Linked DNA regions of Homo sapiens: regions 1 and 3 are each linked to region 2. Evidence: promoter capture Hi-C in 16 types of primary human blood cells and fetal thymus (Javierre and others, 2016). All regions are on one chromosome and are shown on one strand. Each heading gives the region's core, a stretch centred on a gene start or on the middle of the fragment in contact. The rest is flanking DNA. Distances are from core to core; before and after follow the strand shown.

Region 1 (3,536 bases), core at 988-3,487, 600 kb before region 2:
TTAGTCAGTATGACAACCTCTTTTTGGTTAGAGCGTTTGTAATTATTCATATGATAGTTTTAAATCTCTCATCATGCTATTTGTTTTCTGTTTGTTTCATCTTAGTTCCTTTCCCCCTCACTTCTTGCCTTATTTTGAATGGAATGTTTTTTAAATTATTATTTCATCTATATCCACTATTGGACTTATTTGTTATATCTATGTTTTCTTTACTGGTAGTTATTCAAGAGCAGTGAGGTCCAATAGAATTTTCAGTAATGATGGAAATGTTCTATATTTATGCTCTCAAATATGGTAGCCACATGTGACTACTGAGCATTTGATATGTAGTTGGTGCCACTGAAAAAGTGAATAATTAATTTTATTTCATTTTCATTAATTAAAATTTAAATTTAGTCAGTTGTGGCTAGTGGCCACCATATTGGACATTTCACGCTAGGCTTCAATATCTTTTCCTTATTATAATTTAACTTTACTGTATTTTACCACTTACTATATAAGACCATTACAAAAGTATATATCCATTTCCCTCTTCAATTCTTTGCACTATTGTTGTCATATATTTTACCTTTACATATTAAAAATCCTACATTATTTTTGCTTCAAATAGCTATCTTTTAAAGCAATGAAAAAATAAAGACATTTTACCCACATATTTACTATTTCTGATGTTCTTTATACCTTCATATAGATCTAAATGTATCTGATCTGATATGATTTTATTTCAGTTGGAAGAACTTCCTTTAACATGTATTTCAGTGCAGATCTCTTGTTGATGAACTCTTTAAGTTTTTGTTTGTCAAAAAAAAAGTTGTTTTTTTCCTTTGACCTTAATTTTTCAGGACATTTTTACTGGCTTTAGAATTCTAGTTTGACAGTTGTTTTCTTTTAGGCCTTTAAAGATGTCATTCCATTATCTCATTGCTGTAAATTCTTATCTTTCTTTTTATGTAATGTGTCTCCGCCTACTCTAAGATACAGCAACTCCTTTAAAATTTTAAAAAAAATTTTTATCGGTTGTCCAGCAATTTTATGATGTATTTTGTACAACATATGTGTGTGTTTATTCTAGTTAGCATTGATTGAACTTCTTGGATCTGTGAGATTATGTACTATTCATCAAATTTTTGGCTAATTCTTCAAAAAGCTTTACTTCATCTTAGCTTGTGGGGACTCTAATCACACTTGCATTAGACCTCTTGATATTAATCCACTCATTTTTAATTCTTTCTTTTCCTCTAAACTTCCTCTGAGATATATCCTGTTCCTTATAATTCATTGATATTTTCTTCTGTAGGGTCTATTCTGACATTAAAACAATCCAGAGAAATTTTCATTTCAGATCTTGTATTTTTTTAATCTGTAAAAGTTTCACCTTGGTCTTTTATATCTCTTCTATTTCTATACTCATTGTGTTTATGTTTTCCTTTATATCCTTAAACACTTAAAGTATATTCATCATATCTGTTTTATCATCTCTGTTTGCTATTTCCATCATTCCTTTCATTTCTGTGTCTGTTTCTAGTAAGTGATTTTTCTCCTAGTTATAACATTTTTCTTATTCACATAATGTCTAATAATTTTTTATTTGTTGTTGAGCATTGTGAGGTTAGGTTGTAGAGTGCTGAATTTTGAAGTATGTCTTCAAAGAGTGTTGCAACCAATTATGTAACTTGTGGATTTAGCTGTTTTGAAGCTCTTTTAAACTTTTGTACAGAAGATCTATATTTACCTTTAATTTAGGGCTAATTTAGCCCCACTACTAAGGTGTGGCCCTTCTGGAGTCTCTAGTGAACACTCCATTTAGTCAATGAGGTCTTCTTACTATAGATGAAGGGATCTTGAATGATTTCTAGCTCTTTGTTAATTTTTTTTTCTCATAGTTTTCCAGTAATTGTTCTTTCCTTGGAAGCTATTCTTGCCCACCTCATGGGATTTCACCCTACACATGAGCAGACTGGCACTCAACCAAAGACTCAAGCAGATGTCTATGCAAATATATACAACTATTTCTCTGACTAGTCCCCCACCCTTTATCAAACTCCACCCTACAAATTTTAGCTCCCTCAGCCTTTTGAATCTATGCTCTTCAATTAGTAAGATTGCCACGCTCTATTTGAGCTCCACTTTGCTGAGCTGCAGTGTTATTTGCCCCCAGGCAGAAAGCATAGTAGACTTTAAGGCTTACCTTCTTTGTTCCTCCTCTCTCCAGAATTACATCTAGTATTTCCAGTTGTCTGATGTCGGAAAATAATCATTTCCTATACTGCATGCATTTTTTAAATTTACGATGGGAGGATAATTCTGAATCCTATTAGTCCGTCAGAGCCAAAGTGGAAGTCCCTAATTCCTTTTAGTGGAAAATGCTTCTAGAAGCAAGGATCTGAGGGTTAGGTGTGCTTTTTGCTACACAGTCATCATTTTTGTGGTGATAGCACATAACATTGCTCTATACATTTTTCAAGAATACAATATACCTTGCTGTACAACAGAGCTCTTGATATTTATTCCTTCTATCTAATTGTAATTATGTATGCTTTGACCAACATGTCCCCAGACTACCTTAACCTAACTTCCCCAGGCTCTGGTAACTGCAATTGTACTCTCTACTTCTATGAGATCACCATTTTTAGATTCCACATATGGACAAAATTATGAGGTATTTGTCTTCCTGTGCTTGTTATTTCACTTAACTTGATGTCTACCAGGTTCATCCATGTTGTCATAAATTTCAGTTTTTATGGCTGAATAGTATTCCATTCCACATATATACCACATTTTCTTTATCCATGCATCCATTGATGGACACTTAGGTTAATTCCATATCTTGGCTATTGTGAACAATGCTGTGATCAACAAGAAGGGCAGATTTTTTTTAACATACTGATTTCATCTCCTTTGGATATGAACATACTATTTTACATAAAGCTGTACCATTTTACACTCCCACTAACTGTTTTTAAGCATTCACTCTTCTCCTCATCCTCATCAACACTTGTTAGCTTTTGTCTTTTTGATAATGGTCATTTTAATTGGGGTGAGGTGACATCACTTTGTGGTTTTGATTTGCATTTCCCTGATAATTTGATAATTAGTGATGCTGAGTATTTTTTCATACATCTATTGGACCTTGTATGTCTTCTTTGAGAAATGTTTATTCACGTCCTTTGCCCATTTTTTAAATGGGCTATTTGTTTTTTGTTAAGATCTTTGCGTATTTTGAATATTAGCCACTTGTCATATGTATAGTTTATATGTATTTTCTCCCATTTCTACAGGTTGTCTCTGAACTCTGTTGATTGTATCCTTTGCTATACAGAAGCTTTTTAGTTTGATGTAAGCCCATTTGTCTATTTTTGCTTTCATTGGCTGTGCTTTTAAGGTCTTATCCAAAACATCCTTGCACAGACCAATGTCATAAGGAATTTCCCGTGTTTTCTTCTAATAGTTTCATAATTTTAGATCTGACATGTAAGTCTTTAATCCATTTTTTATTTTTTATACGGTGGAGATAAGGGTCTCATTTCATCTTCCAC
Region 2 (3,788 bases), core at 276-2,775:
GATATGCTGCTTCTTTCTGTCTTATTCCTATTTAACACGTGTTGCTCTTTGAAAATGTTCTGTTTGTTCAAATATAATGTGGGCGAATTCTCTTTGACTGTCTTCTCACTGTATCTGAGTTCCAGAGCTGAGATACTGCACTTTTCTCTGCTTTTCTGGAACCTGAGTACACATTTAGGATAAGGACTGCTCCCTTGAATCCACACAACTTCCAGGCTCTGTGCTCTCTTCTGAGATTTTGATAAGCTCCTTTACCACCATCCTCCCACTCTTGTCACGAGTGTGCCCTATTCCTGTGACAACATGCCCTTTGACTTTGAATCTTTGCCTCAATTCAATGTAGGGACCTAGAAAAAGGCAAGCCCTGGAGATTTCTCCTGTCCCTGCTCAGGTCCTGGGAGCGGTAGGGATTGACCTCCACTCAGGATGGTTTTATCTGGCCGGATTTCCCCAGGTGTTTCCTCGTTCGGCTCACCCTTTCATACCCCTTCTTTTCAGTGTGTGTATTCTTTGCATCAAAAAGCATTAATGAGAATTCTTGGTGTTGTGTCTACTTGGTCTCTGCCCCCTGAAGGGCTTTGGGAGGGTGGAGATGAGGCTGGACACCATTCTCCACGGCAAGCTGCTATTTCACTGAGTTTTTGAAGTTTACGGTACAAGGTTGTACTCAATTTCTCGTCTGAGAAATAATTTGCTCCATTATTTGAAGGCGGTGCGGAGGGCTGGCTTTTACTATGCTTTTGCGCATTTCATTAGTAATGGTGGGGGAGAGGTTTTGTGATCCTGATTATAATTTTTACCTGGATGTCCTCTCCACGCCTTTGACAGCATTAAACCTGGCGTTCCAATAGGAGCTGCAGGGTCTAAAATGTGCAAATAAACCTCAACAGTTACTAAAGTCGAAGAAAGAAGAGCAATGAAAGCCAACACTCATAGCGACTTACGGATAACTGTTAATAGCATCCACACTGCATTTTACATTTACAACGCACCCGCGCCTTAGTTCATACTCATTAAGTCTCCGAAGGGCGCGTCTGCCTAAGTCTTGGGTGCCCAGAATCTAAGTCTGCACTTGGCCCAGAATAGATGCCCAGTAAAGTTCTGAACGAACGACTGTTATACCCAGTTTACAGATGGGAAAACTGAAGACCACCATCATTAAGGGCCTTGCCCAAGGCCGCAGAGCTGACAGTGGATGAAAATGGGGCCAGCAGGAAAGCGGGAAGACGGCCTGGAGGACCACAGGCTAAGTGCTGGGGCCCGGAGCAGGCTCGCCAAGCGGCCGGGCCCCGCGACGGAGCGCTCGGACTCCGACCGGCTCCCACAGCTGCGCCCACCCAGGCCTCCCGCGGTGGCGCAGGCGCGGAATGCGGGGGGCGGGGGGGGGGAGGGGGCAGGCGGAAGGCAATGCGCAGGCGCGGCGTTTCCGTTGCTAGGGCCGCGTCGCGCCCACCTGAGTGGCCGAAGTGAGGTTCGCGAGTCTCTGGGTCGCGACGGGAAGGAGTGAAACACCTCTCTGCGCCTGCGCGCTCCGTGCCTGCGAAGCAAACCCGGCCTCACCTTTTCCTGCCCGAAGCAGAAGATTCTCGCAGTCCTGGTTTCTCCCTCCAGAAGACCCCCCACCCAAATCCTCTGTAGCTCCTGGTAGTGCCCTGACCCCTGCTGCCACCGTCCTTCAGAGAGCAACGGAAGAGCTTCCCGGAGGGCGAGGAAAAGAGGGAAAGTAGCCAGCAATGTCGAACGCGTAAGTGATGGGCTCCCAGCCACAGCCATGGAGTGGGCTTCCCCAAGCCAGAAGGTGGCTTGCTTTCTGCTTCTCTTATTTTCTTTTTTCTTTTCTTTTCTCCTCCCCTCTCAACTTCCCTCCTCTCCCCCACTTTTTTTCCTTTTAGGAAATTCAAATATGCCTCGGGATAGAGTATCTGCTTCTTGTGAGCAAGGAAAATCATACACTTAGATCTCCCCCTCCCCTACGCGTCCCACCACCCCATGGGGATGAGCTCCCAGTCTTCCGTATACCTGCCAAGCCCTTAGGGGCTATTGCTGAGAAGCACTATGCCATTTTGTCTGCTTTTTTTGTTAATCTTTCACGGTAACAAATACGGTGCTTTGTGGAAACACCTAGGTCCTGAAATTTAAGTCTAGAAAGATCTTGGGAAAGCATTATTGACATTTGCTTTTCACAGACTCGAGTGGCATTGGTACTGAAAGAAGTGTGTGCCTAGCACTGTGTCGTTTACACAGCACTTGCACAAAGTTACCTCATTTGGTCTTCGTAAGAATAATTTCCAACAGGTATTACAGCGCTGACCCTGTAGACACTGTTCTAACCGCTTCACAGCAACCCTGTAACGTAGGGGCTGTTAATATTGTTATTTCCATTTTACAGATGAGGGAACTTGGGGATGAAGAGGTGAAGTAGTTCACACAGCAAGTGAACAGTGCCAAGCCGGGCACTGTAGCTCCAGCCTGCACTGTTGCTATTACGTGCCCTGTATTCTAGGCAAGGAAATAAGAGCAGAGAGGTTAAAGGCTTGCCAGGGTTTGGAAATGGGGAAGATCAAGAGTTCTGTTTAAGACGTATTGAGTTGGAAGTGCCCATTGGACATCACGTGGAGATGAAATAGGCAATTAAAATATTCAGATCTTGGGTTCAGGAGCGAGACCCATGTCTGAAATATAAACTTGCTCACTGTCAGCCTGTGATGGTCTTTGTGAGACATAGAATGAATATTAATAAAGAGGTGTAAGGACTGATCCTGGGATCATCCACAGTAAGGCTGGGGGAAGAGGAGACCTGGCAAAGGAATCAAAGACATGATCCATGAGGAAGAAGCGAGTGGAAGAAATAATAGTGTTTCCAGGAGAAGTAACTTCTTTCTCCTCCATCAAGTGCTCCTGAGACAAGTTGGGGTAGAACTGAGAACTGACTGTTGATTTGGCAGTGTGGAGTTCACCAGTGACCTTGACAGGAGCTGATTCAGTGGTATGATGAGATAGAAAGACTTACTCAAGTGAATGTAGGGGGAGAGAAACTATAGATGGTGAGCATAGCTAACTCTTTAAAGGAGTTTTGCTGCAGAGGAAAGGAAATATGTTGGCAGCTAGAGGCAGAGGACATGGCTCCAAGACAGAAAACAATAGAATGTTTGTGTGTGGAAGGGAATGGCCCAGAATGATATAGGAGGAGGAGGGAGAAGTGGGTGACATCGTTGGTAGTGAGAGGACATGGGATCCAGGGGGTGCTGGCCTTAGGTAGAGGAACTCAGCACTTAACAATGGAACAGGTAGGAAGGCAGCATCAAGATGCTATTCAGTGGGTGGGTGCTCTGGAGGTGGCCTGGAACGATCATGGTAGATGGAAGATGATGGTGACTGAGGGGCAGTGGTGACAGCATCAGATGAAATGGGATTCAAAGCCTGGGAGTGTTGGGAGGAGGGAAGGCAAATGTCTGGAGGTGCAGTGAAGAGAAGGGGTCCCCTTGACCCAGCCCCACAGCCAGAGACAGAGGGCTCTGGGGGTAACAGGAGCCTCTACTGAGAGGGCTTCTGAGCAGAGACAGGCCTTCCGTAGAGCAAGAAGGCAGGGGGAGTATTTGGGGAAGAAGACAGCAAACTAGTTAAGATTGGAAGATTCAGAAGGTTTTATCTTGTGCAAAATAACTTGAAAAGAATTCCCATTGTGCAATATTTTGAGTTCCCACGGAAGTGCATATATTCAAGTGAATATTCAAGTGTTTCCCTCCCCTACCCACTCCGTTATAGGAAAACTGCCAAGCTGTAGAAAT
Region 3 (3,541 bases), core at 665-3,164, 530 kb before region 2:
GAATTGAGCGAAAGGTTGGAATTTAGGTCAGATGCCCTGGGGTGGATAAGTCGGCCTTTCTGGGTTTGGGAGACGATTCTCTGAATTCTTGCTTAGAACTCTGCTCTCAGATTTCTAAAAGGCCTTGCGGAGGGGAGGTCCATGGGGCTCCCACCAGGAGGAGGGGGTTCTGGGCCTAGGTGAACCCCCTCAAATGGGTGCCCATGAGGCTGCAAGAATCAGCTTTGCAACTTCAGGAAACCTTTGCTAGCACTAATGGACAAAGTGAGGAGGTCATGTCAGACTTATTTGCTTCCCGAGAGTCTACAAAGTCAGTTCCATGTGGTTGAAAGAGGAAACTCGTACATGTACAGTGCAGTGACTGGGTTCGAATTCAGACCTACAGAAGTCTAAATCCTGGCTTCACTGCTCTCACTATGTGACTCTGGACCGTCAGTTCCCTTATCTGTAGAATGGGAATAGCAACCCTCCTAGGGCTGTCCTGCACATCAAATGCAGTGCAGCTGCTAGCATGAAACATGCCCTCCGCTGTGACAAGCATCTGCTGAGAGTCATTGCTGCGGACACTAGCTGAAATAAAGAACAGGGTCAAACCCAGCAGGGGACACCACCACTATTGTGGAATCATTCTAGGACCTGGCACAGGATGTAGGGTTTTGTTTTGTTTTGTTTTTTGTTTTTGAGACAGAGTCTTACCCTGTCACCCAGGCCGGAATGCAGTGGCATGGTCTCGGCTCACTGCAACCTCCGCCTCCTGGGTTCAAGCAATTCTCCTGCCTTAGCCTCCCAAGTAGCTGGGATTACAGGCATGCACCACCACGTCCGGCTAATTTTTGTATTTTTAGTAGAGATGGGGTTTCACCATGTTGGTCAGGCTGGTCTCGAACCCCTTACCTCAGGTGATCCGCCCACCTCGGCTTCCCAAAGTGCTGGGACTACAGATGTGAGCCACTGCACTTGGCCAGGATGTAGGTTTTGATAAGTGCTATACTGTGAAATCGTTTAACATATTGGATTTGGAAGAGAAATGATTCATGCAGTAAAATGGATCTAAAATATCTTTTATAAGAAAAAAGCTAAGGAATGCAAAGTCTGCTTCACTGTTTCCTGGAGGGGACTGGTATTTAGCATTTTGTTGTAAATTAATGATTCTGTTAAGATAAATGTTCACACTGGATGTCACATTTCCAATCATAGTTAGTGACAGAAGCTTTTGTGTAAAAAGTACCTTCCATAGGGTGGAGGAAAAAAGACATAATGATGTTAAATAAAATTGAAAAAAGAAAAAAATGAATATTCTAAGGAAACAATGAGAAAAAATAATGAAGAAAAAATGAATATTCTAAGGAAACAATGAGAAAAAACAATGAGAAAAAAAATAAGGGATAAAAAGGCTTGTACGGAGGATACAATACAGTTACATAAGTAAACCTTACCCAAGTATCTTAAAGGCCATGGTCTCAGAATCTCATTACTCCACAAAGGGCATTACTAAAAAATTATTGTCAGAAATATCTTAGCAAACCAGTGCAGTTAGAGAAAAAACCAACTTACTGTATACTGAACACATCCAAACTGTAAATGAGCCATTACTTAGAGTTTGGATTGAACTCAAGTTCATTAGGCTTAAATGACCTTGGCAAACTTATAAAAATTACCATCAACTTTGAACAATTATTAGATGCCTAATTGCACAAGGCAGTGGATTCCTGATTTAAATAGGTCCAATTAGGAAACATGCGAAGAGGAGCCGCTCATGTGGAAAGTGAGACCCTCCCGAGGGTGGAGTCCCTGACACTTTGCAGAAAGAGCTGTGGGGGCAGCAGGGCAGGGCGGAGGTATCAGGAAAAGTTGAGAACAAGCTCGGAGGGCCGGCTGGGAAGCCGACTGTGGGTCTCTCTGGAGTCTGTCTCCCTTTGCTTATGCTAAATTATTTTGGAATTCTGGGCTTTCCTCTCTTTATGTTTTGTTTATTTATTTAAAAGAACAAAGGAAAAACAGAGCTAGAGATGTCAAGCAGAAGTCCATTCTTTCTCAGGGTGACAAATTGCCTTCACTTTCCTCCTTTCCTAGCAACATAACCCCATGACTGTTTCTTTTTGATTTCCTTAGGAAAACAATCTTTCACTTTTTATATTTCAGGGTTTTTTTTCAAGACAGGGTCTTGCTCTGTCGTCCAGGCTGGAGTGTAGTGGCGCCATCTCGGCTCACTGCAGCCTCCGCTTCCCGGGTACAAGTGATTCCCGTGCCTCAGCCTCCTGAGTGGCTGGGATTACAGACATGTGCCACCACGCCCAGCTAATTTTTGTATTTTTAGTAGAGTTGGGGTTTCACCAGGTGTCCCAGGCTGGTCTCAAACTCCTAGCCTCAAGTGATCCACCTGTCTTAGCCTCCCAAAGTATTGGGATTACAGGCGTGAGCCACCATGCCCGTCCGGAAACAATCTTTAGCTTGCTAGAATTTAATTCTGTTTTAGACCCCATATGAAGCCCCTCTTGTGATCATCCTAATGTTCTCATTATGTATTTCTCATTAAACAGGTATATCCTATGCTTTGGCTTGAATGTTTTTCCCCTCCCAAACTTATATTTGAAAATATTAATTGAAAACAAGCTTGTAGATCAGGCTGATCCTCTCAACCATCCTTTAGCATTGGGAGTACTGACGATATCATTCCCATTTCCTCCACCCCCAGCACAGCAGACATAATGGCAGTGATCAAATGCTTGCTCAGGGCCACTGGGGTAGTGTACTAGGGTGAGGACTTGGGTGGGGCCAGGTCCCTGGATTCTACCACCTGTGCTGCTTCTCCTCTGACCCACCCCATCTTCTCCAGGACACCAAGGGATTTGTGTTGCTGCTTTAATTGCTTAAAAAAAAAAAAAAAAAAAAAACCTGGATGGCTGCAACATGTATAGGTCCCCATTAGTTCATTCTTAAAACAAAAATAGGCTCTAGAATTAATTGCAATATAGTTGGCCTTTTAATCCCTCACAAAATAAATGCATTTTGACTCAAATAAAGCAATTTATTTATGCATCAGTGAAAATGTAGATGAGGGCAGTGGATTTCAAACTTCTTTAGCAGCCCAACTTTTGTACACACCTAAATACATGGATAAAGGCATAAACAAATTAGATAGACTGATGAAAATGGCCTGTATTGAGAAAAGGGGAGGGGCTGGGTCCATACTTCTACCTATCTGTTTGGTTCTCCACTGTCACACCCTGGTGGAGAAGCCACTGCCTCACTCTAGTTGAGTTTTCCCACCAGGGTTATATAAGGCTGAAACCAAGCTCGACAGAGTTGCAGCAATGCACAAATGGTGAAATGGTGAGGTCTGTATCTGTAACACACACACATGCACATAGACACACGCACACGTCTTGATATTTATGGGTCTTGAATATCAAAGGTTGCGATGAATTTAGCAATGCTCTTAAATGAGTTGATATAAAATGTCAGTGCCGATTCCTTCTTTCAGATGTGTTCGATCTTGTCATACTTGTATAGAGATAGCCAAAATTAGGCACTAAAATCA

What was found. Contacts are between HindIII fragments. The CHiCAGO score rates a contact against its expected background, and 5 or more counts as called.
Region 1: a fragment that was not itself captured here is called in contact with the fragment with the promoter of DRC11 in region 2 in 2 of 17 cell types (neutrophils and monocytes); the score reaches 7.0 in neutrophils.
Region 3: a contact is called between a fragment that was not itself captured here and the fragment with the promoter of DRC11 in region 2, in 12 of 17 cell types (M2 macrophages, M0 macrophages, M1 macrophages and 9 more). The highest score is 33.7, in M2 macrophages.

What each region holds. Positions count from the first base shown.
Region 1 is chr2:237,108,239-237,111,774 of GRCh38, reverse strand. No RefSeq gene overlaps it. Among named protein-coding and RNA genes, the nearest start is that of COPS8, 24 kb to the right of the region's middle. The HindIII fragment of the contact is 2,175 bases long and covers 1,150-3,324 here.
Region 2 is chr2:236,505,213-236,509,000 of GRCh38, reverse strand. It overlaps DRC11 (dynein regulatory complex subunit 11), which reads left to right and starts at 1,525. Exons shown (of 19, transcript NM_024726.5): 1 at 1,525-1,744. The coding sequence starts at 1,734. RefSeq lists a silencer at 1,350-1,399. The HindIII fragment of the contact is 24,475 bases long and covers 1-3,788 here.
Region 3 is chr2:237,034,461-237,038,001 of GRCh38, reverse strand. All of the region lies in intron 1 of COPS8-DT (COPS8 divergent transcript), which reads left to right. LOC105373950 (a long non-coding RNA gene) reads right to left here and starts at 1,328. Exons shown (of 3, transcript XR_007088140.1): 1 at 1-1,328. The HindIII fragment of the contact is 1,403 bases long and covers 1,213-2,615 here.